Regions from separate parts of the Homo sapiens genome. Here region 1 is linked to region 2. The links are contacts of gene promoters, found by promoter capture Hi-C in blood cells and fetal thymus (Javierre and others, 2016). All regions are on one chromosome and are shown on one strand. Each heading gives the region's core, a stretch centred on a gene start or on the middle of the fragment in contact. The rest is flanking DNA. Distances are from core to core; before and after follow the strand shown.

Evidence for each region. The method cuts DNA at HindIII sites, captures the fragments that hold promoters and counts their contacts. A CHiCAGO score of 5 or more calls a contact.
Region 1: a contact is called between a fragment that was not itself captured here and the fragment with the promoter of TAS2R3 in region 2, in 1 of 17 cell types (neutrophils). The highest score is 5.2, in neutrophils.

Annotation. Positions count from the first base shown.
Region 1 is chr7:142,361,241-142,365,306 of GRCh38, reverse strand. It overlaps TRB. Among named protein-coding and RNA genes, the nearest start is that of PRSS58, 110 kb to the right of the region's middle. The HindIII fragment of the contact is 3,097 bases long and covers 522-3,618 here.
Region 2 is chr7:141,762,050-141,765,963 of GRCh38, reverse strand. TAS2R3 (taste 2 receptor member 3) reads right to left here and starts at 1,867. Exons shown (of 1, transcript NM_016943.2): 1 at 767-1,867. The coding sequence starts at 1,805. The coding sequence ends at 855. The HindIII fragment of the contact is 2,000 bases long and covers 462-2,461 here.

The DNA.
Region 1 (4,066 bases), core at 821-3,320, 600 kb before region 2:
AGATCCCCAAGGTTTCTGACTCCAGGCCCTGGCTCCTGGATAACATCTCTGGATGTGCCTGGGGTCAGGGGGCCTCGTGACCCTGAAGGGAAGGGTATAAGACTGGCTGACTTTTCCACATGCTGATTGTAGATCCCTGGGGCCTTGAACATAGGCAACAAGCAAGGCAGTGGTTACTGTGGACCTTGGGTGAGACCCATTATCATGCTGGCTTTTTCTGACCTAGGATCTCAGTGATGGCAGCCACAGGGAGCTTGTACCACTACTCCTCAGTTCCAGGTAGTTCAGCAGAGAGAGAGACAGAGATGTTTGTTTGAGTGAAAGTGAAGGAAGAGAACAAGAGTCTCTGCCTGATAATCCAGAGAATTCTTTCAGATCTTATCCAAGACCACCAAGGCAGTATATCTGTGAGTCCACAAGGACCACAGAATTACTGGACTTGGGGTGCTCCCTAATGCAGATAAGGTTTCAGAGATAGAAAACTTAGATTACAACACCCAAGTACATTCAAATACCTGAAAAGCTTTCCAAGGGCGAGTACAAACAAGCCCAGACTGCAAAGACTACAATAAATACTTAACTCTTCAATGCCCAGACACAGGCAAACATCCACAAGTCTCAAGACCATTCAGGAAAACATGACCTCACCAAATGAACCAAATAAAGCACCAGAGGCCAATCCCAGAGAGAGAGAGAGAGATGTGTGACATTTCAGACACAGAACTCAAAATATCTGTTTTGAAGAAACTCAACAAAATTCAAGACAACACAGCCAAGAAATTCAGAATCCGGAAGAGAGCTAAATAATTAAAAACAATCAAGCAGAAATTTTGGAGCTGAAAATGCAATTGACATTCTGACGAATGCATCAGGGTTTCAACCTCACAATTGATGAGGCAGAAGAATCAGTAAGCTTGAAGACAGGCTATTTGAAAATACACCACCAGAGGAGACAAAAGGATAAAAATTAATGAAGCACAAATACAAGATCTAGAATATAGCCTCAAAAGGGCAACTTTAAGAGTTATTGACCTTAAAGAGGAGGTAGAGAGAGAGATAGGGCTGAAAGTTTATTCAAAGCTATGATAATAGAGAAATTCCCAAACTTAGAGAAAGATATCAATATTCAAGTAAAAGAAGATTATAGAATACCAAGCATATTTAAGTCAAAGAAGACTACATCAAGACAATAATCAAACTTCAAGGATAAATCAAAATTTCAAGGATAAAGAAAGGATTCTAAAAGCAGCAAAAGAAACAGATAACATACCATGGACCACCAATATAGTCTAGCAGCAGACTTTTTCAGTGCAAATCTTACAGGTCATGAGAGAGCAGCATGACATATTTAAAATGCTAAAAAAAAAAACGTTAATACTAGAATAGTGTACTCAGTGAAAATACCCTTCAAACATGAAAGGGAAATAATGACTTCCCCAGACAAACAAAATATGAGGGACTTCCTCAACACCAGACCTGTCCTAGAAGAAATGCAAAAGATAATTTTTCAGCATGAAAGAAAAGAACATTAATGAGAAATAAGAAATTATCTGCAGGTGCAAAACTAACTGATAATAGTGCGAAGAAAAACACAATATTATAATACTGTGATTACGGCGTGTAAACTACTTATAAAGACTAAAAGATGAACCAATTAAAAAAAAAACTACAGCTTTTCAAGACATAGACAGTGCCTAAGATATAAATAGAAATGACACAAAGTTGAAAGGTAGGTGGACAATGTTAAAATATAAGATTTTTACTAGTTTTCTCTGTTTTTTTTTGGTTTGTTTGCTTAGGCAATCAGTGTTATGTTGTCATCAGTATAAGATATTATTTGCAAGCCTCATGCATAGTAATTTTAAATACAAACATATGCAACGTAGTAACTTTAAATACAAACACATACAACAGATACACAAAAATAACAAACAAGAAATGAAAACACGTTATCAGGGAAAATCACCTTTACTAAAAAGAAGACAGGAAAGAAGAAACAAATGAAGAGAAGACCACAAAACAACCAGAAAACAAATACATGGCAGGAGCCAGTACTTAGTTATCAACAATAACATTGAATGTAAATGATGTAAACTCACCAATCAAAGGACATAGAGTAGCTGAATGAATATAAAAATAAGACCCAATGATCTGTCACTTACAAGAAACACACCTCCCCTAAAAAGACATATAGATTGAAAGTGAAGAGATAACAAAAAGATGTTTCATGCACGTGAAAACCAGAAAAGATCAGGAGTAGCTATATCTATATCAGATAAAATATATTTCAAGACAATAACTATAAAAAGAGGCAAAGAAGTTTACTATATAATAATAAAAAAGCTAGCACAAACATATGTATGGAAACTGCCACATTGCCATTATTGGCACATGCTTCTGAGCATGTACCCCAATGCCACCATTTGGAAAAAGTACTTTGGCTGGCATTCCCCATTGCAGTGTTGTTGCCAGTGGAATTGGGAACGCCTCAGCCCCTCTGGTGTAGCAGGTGCTTTAACCTTAAGGGGTCAAAAACCAAAGCTCTGGGCTTAATTCCAGCACCACAGGCCTACAACACGCAGCCCAGAAATACTGAGCTGAATCTTAGCCCCCTGAAATATTCCATAAATGAAGCCAGTCTCCTGAACCCAGCTTATGTAACAGTGAAACCCTCAAGGGCATAGAATATAAAAGCAAAAAACCCTTCCAAAAGACATCAGCTTAAAAGATTAAAGAAACCTCAGACCACAGAGATGAGAAAGAACCAGTGAAAGAACTCTGGCAACTTAAAAAGTCAGAGTGCCTTCTTAGCACCAAATGAACACACTAGCTTCCCAACAATGATTCTTAACCAGGCTGAAGCGGCTGAAATGATAGACATAGAATTCAGAAACAGGTTAGAAACAAACACTATCAAGATTCGGAAGAAAGCTGAAAGTCAATCTAAGGAATCTGATGAATCCAATAAAATGACACATTAGCTGAAAAATGAAATAGCTATTTTATGAAAGAACAAAATTGATCTGATAGAGCTGAAAAACTAACCTCAACAATGTCATAATGTAATCAGAAGTATTAACAGCATAATCAATGAGAAAATAATCTCAGAGCTTGAACACTTATTTTTGAATCAATTCAGTCAGACAAAAAAAGAATGGAAAAAAAAGAAAAATGAATGAAGTAAACCTCTGAGAAATATGGGATTATGTAAAAAGACCAAACCTATGACTCATTGATGTCCCTGAAAGAGGGGGAGAGAGAGTAAGCAACATTGAAAACATATTGGAGGATATTGAGCACAAAAAATTCCCTAACCTTGCTAGAGAGTTTAATATTCAAATTCAGGAAACACGGAGAATTCTTATGAGATACCATAAAAGACAACCACCCCCAAGACACATAGTCATCAGATTCTCCAAGGTCAACATGAAAGAAAAAATATTAAAGTCAGCTAGAAAGAAAAGGCAGGTCACCTACAAAGGGAATCCCATCAGACTAACAGCAGGTTTTTCAGGAGAAACTTTACAAGGCAGAAACAATTGGGAGCCAATATTCAACATTCTTAAAGACATGAAATTCCAACCAGTATCCCTATATATTTCATATCCAGCCAAACTAAGCTTCATAAGGAAAGGAGAAATAAGATCCCTTCAGACAAGCAAATGTTCAAGGAATTTGTTACTACCAGACCTGCCTTACAAGAGGTCCTGAAGGGAGTCCTAAACATAGAAATGAAAGATCACTAACAGCCACCAAAAAACACACTCAAGTACATAGACCATTGACATTATAAAGCAACTACACAATCAAGTCTGCATAACAACCAAGCAAGAACACAATGGCAGGATCATATCTACACGTATTAATATTAACCTTGAATGTAAACAGGCTAAACACAGCACATAAAAGTCGTTTATTATTAAAAGAGCTGCCAGGCGCCGTGGCTCACGCCTGTAATCCCAGCACTGTGGGAGGCCAAGGCGGGCGGATCACCAGGTCAGGAGATCAAGACCATCCGGGCTAACACGGTGAAACCCCGTCTCTACTAAAATACAAAAAATTAGCT
Region 2 (3,914 bases), core at 618-3,117:
AAAAGTGATTAAACTTACAAAATTCACTTATATTACATTTGATAAAACTGTAATTTTAAAACCAGGTAGGCATCTTGGTCAAAAATAAAAACAAAACTACTTGGTCTTTTGCCCAATCTACAAAATAATTACTTGAAAATGTACTTTAGCAAAATGATCATGAAATGCAAGATTGAATTGGAATCTAGAATCTAAAGGTCTTGATTTTCTTTCCACTGTTTTCATCATTACACAATGTGTTTGTGGGAACTGGAATCATATGGAAATTGCTGTTGCTGCACAATCCAATATTAGCGCAATAATAGCCTTCACTTACTGAGTACTGTACACAACACACTGTGCTAAAATGGCCAGTAGGGATCAGAAGAGGGAATCAGACAGGTAATTAAAGTAACTCACCAGAGGCCAAAAATCTTGGCCAGAATCAGAATTCAAACCCACATCTATAGGACTGCAAAGCTTTTGCTCTTTCCTTCAAGTCTACTATGTAATTTTATGTTTATCACTGTTAGTATCTAATTTAAGTTGAAACTAGTAATCAGACTCATTATGTCGAGCTGATGATTATTAAAATACAGCACCATATGTTTATAGTGAGAGTGTTCTTACGACATGGTCATTTCCAAGACTACTACTCCTGCACCCTCCCCACCTCCGCAACCACCATACAGAGAGAGGCTGTGAGAAGCGTGGCTTTCACCTTGGAACAAGTGCCCAGGGACCAGGGGCAAAGCAGTCAGTGTTTCTCTCCTACTGATGTTATGGAACTGGTAACATAGGAAGGTCAGGAAGAGTCCTGTAGTCTTGAGCCAGGCCAAAAGGCTCAAGGGCTCCACCCCATGCCCTCTGTTACTCTAAGAGAAAATGGGTCCCTTGGATCCAGGCTTCAGATGACCAGACTCACACCGGAGCATCACTACAAATGTCTGCTTCAGCTTACTGTTCCCCAGAATGAGAATAAATGAGTGGCCAGCAGGATAAAACATTGTCATTACTTCGCCAATCATCTTAGCCATCTTGGTTTTTGGTAGGAAATTACCAAATGATGCAATTAAGAAAGCAAGAAAGTAAAGTAAGAAGAGAAAGAAGAAGGAAAGGATGATTCTGATGGCCCTCTTGTGGGCCTCAGTGGTTGGATCTCTGGAGCTTGTCCCATTTTGCAGCATCTGCCGTGTGTGCCTCCCCAGGGAGAAGATGAGCAAAGAGTAGGAGGCCAGGGACACAATTAAGGGAGGCAGGTACCACAGAGTCCCAAGAACATGGATCAGATAATACTCACTCCTCTTCTTTCTGAAGTGTTCAGTCACATTCCTGGTGGCCTCAATTCCCCTAAAGACAGAATAGAGCTTAAACTCATTGATCAGAGATGCGGTACTACCACAGGATAAGAGCAGTGCACCCAACAGCATCCATACCATCACCCTAGAAACTCTCCACTTGAGCCAGAGGAATGTGGGGTGAGAGAAACTGGCGATTTTCAGGCAGTAGAGGACACCAAGACAGGTGGCAAGCCAAATGCTCAGATGGTTTGTAAATGTCCAGGAAACATCAATAATTTGCATTATTATCCCTGAATCATGTGTGTTGGGAGAGAATTCTATTAAAAAACTATCAGTCAAGATAATACACAGCAGAATGATCCTCAAGAGTGCCAGGGTGGTGATGATGAAGTCAGACAAAGACATTCTCTTGGTCTTGAACCAGCTGCTACCATTGACCAACTCAATGAAACAATTGACCAGAATTCCCAGTGTGAACTGAGTGCCAGACAGAATCAGGAACACCCCCTCGGTGAGTCCCATCATGTCAGCAATTAGGCAGCCCTGATCTTTGTTCTTTCTGTTGATACATAGAATCTCCTCACTGATGTGATATTTTTCTCGTTAATCTACTCCTCTACCTGTTGCTTCACTGTACCTGTCTCTTGTCTCTGCCCAATTTAGTCTGTCGTAGAGCACAATTTAGGAAATCCTCTCTGGCTCTTTCAGGTTAGTCTGTCCTCTTCACAGATGATATGGATTGTCATATTCCATCAATGAACCTAAACTTTGCAGCTCTTTGCTAAAATGCAAATGAGTAGTGTCCAGTGTCACATAGAGAAGGAAGAGATCTAGGTCACAAAGATGATGGAGGACTTGGACTCAGTTTCAAAGGGTGTAGGGCTCTGAGTTACCCAAAACAGAAAGATGAGCGGCACCAAATGGAGGCGGCTCAGAATTACTCAGAAGAGTAAAAAGTCTCATTCCTCAGGAGGGAGGACTCAGAGATACAGAAAAGGAATTCCACTAGGAGCCACTATCCACCTGGAGTGAGGTTTAAGTGCATAAAATTGTAAAAGTTCAGTGCCATTGATCATGGATTAGAATTAAAAGGCATGCCCCTTGGAGCCTGGCTTACATGCAGAGAGATGGCTGTAAGCTATAAGCTAGCAAGAGAAGCCTCACCAGAAAGTGGCCAAGCTTACATCCCGAACTTGGACTTGCAGTGGGAAGTCTCAGACCCACTCTGGATTGCTAGTCTGCTATAATACTGTCCAGGGAGGCATAAGAACAATACTTCTGTTCTTAACCTAAGAGCTCCTCTATTTAACAAGCGGCTATTAATTAAGGATCTTCATTCAGGACTATATGCAGAATTAAGCAGTACGTAGTTTGTATTAAAGTATGCTTATGTTGACTCTTTTTAAAGCTAATTGCTAAGGTTTGTATACTTTTTATGTCCTACTCCCTTCCCTAAATTTAATGAGACATTAGTTTAAAACCTAAAGGATTGTGGGAATAAAGAAAAGATTTTACTTCTACTTGCCGTGAAAGGTCATGTAAGAGAAAGATAAGAGTAAAGAGTTGCTCATGTATACGGAGATAAAGTCAACAATATATGAATAAGAAAGAATTAGGTTTAAGTACACAACACAAGTAAATGGCTTAGAGGAGAGGTATATTTTTGTCTCCCAAAGCAGTCCAGAGGCAAACTGTCCAGGCTGGTATGGTGGTTGCATAGTGATTGCAGATCCCAGCTTCTTCTACCTTCCATTCTGAAGACTGCCTCATGGTCCAAGATGGCAACTGGAAATCCAGCCATGAAATGTCCACATTTCAGACAAAAAAGAAAATGCTGTAGGACGAGAGTCTGGGGAAGCACACAGGATACGCCTCCCAAGAGTAACTCATATAGAAAGTTCCCTGAGAGCATCACCAAGTGACTTCTGCCTATAGCCCCTTGGCAACCCCTAACTGAAAAGAACAGGAATGCAGTACATGTGCTGTGCACCCTGTCACATCTGGGTTCTATAAATACAGAAGGGACAATAGATACTGGGTAGTGCATTAATCATGTTTATTTTCTGTATTTTATGCTTTGACACTTTTGGGCCTTGCAGACCCAGAGAGGGCATGCCCTCCCAAGGTTAGCTAATTCCTGGAGTTAGCCAACTTGCCTGAGAAAACTCCTTTGATAAGCAAACCAGCCAATCCTGAATCCACACTGCCCCTCCCATCTACCTCCTTTGCTTAGGTAGAAAACGAGCCCAGGACACTATGACCTTGCCTTCAATCACCCCAGGGCCAGGCACCTGATAACTAGGGACCATCTTGAGAACCTGCAGCCTGCTGAAATTATTCAAACTACCCAATCCTAACCTTGCTTAGCTTTCCACTGGTGCCTTACTCATTGCTTCCCTATGAAAAACACAACAAAGCCTCTGGCTTATGTTTTCCCCCCTCCTTCTTCCTCCTGACCAACTCCAGTGCATCCCTGAGTGGCCTTGCATGGCATAGCATGCAACCTCCTATTGGGAACTGTGAAATAAAAGACTCTTCTTTCAAAGCAGTTGTCTGTGTGACATGATTAAAGCAGCTGTCTCCGTGACATGATTAAAGCAGTTGTCTCCTACCATACATGATTAAGGCAAGTCC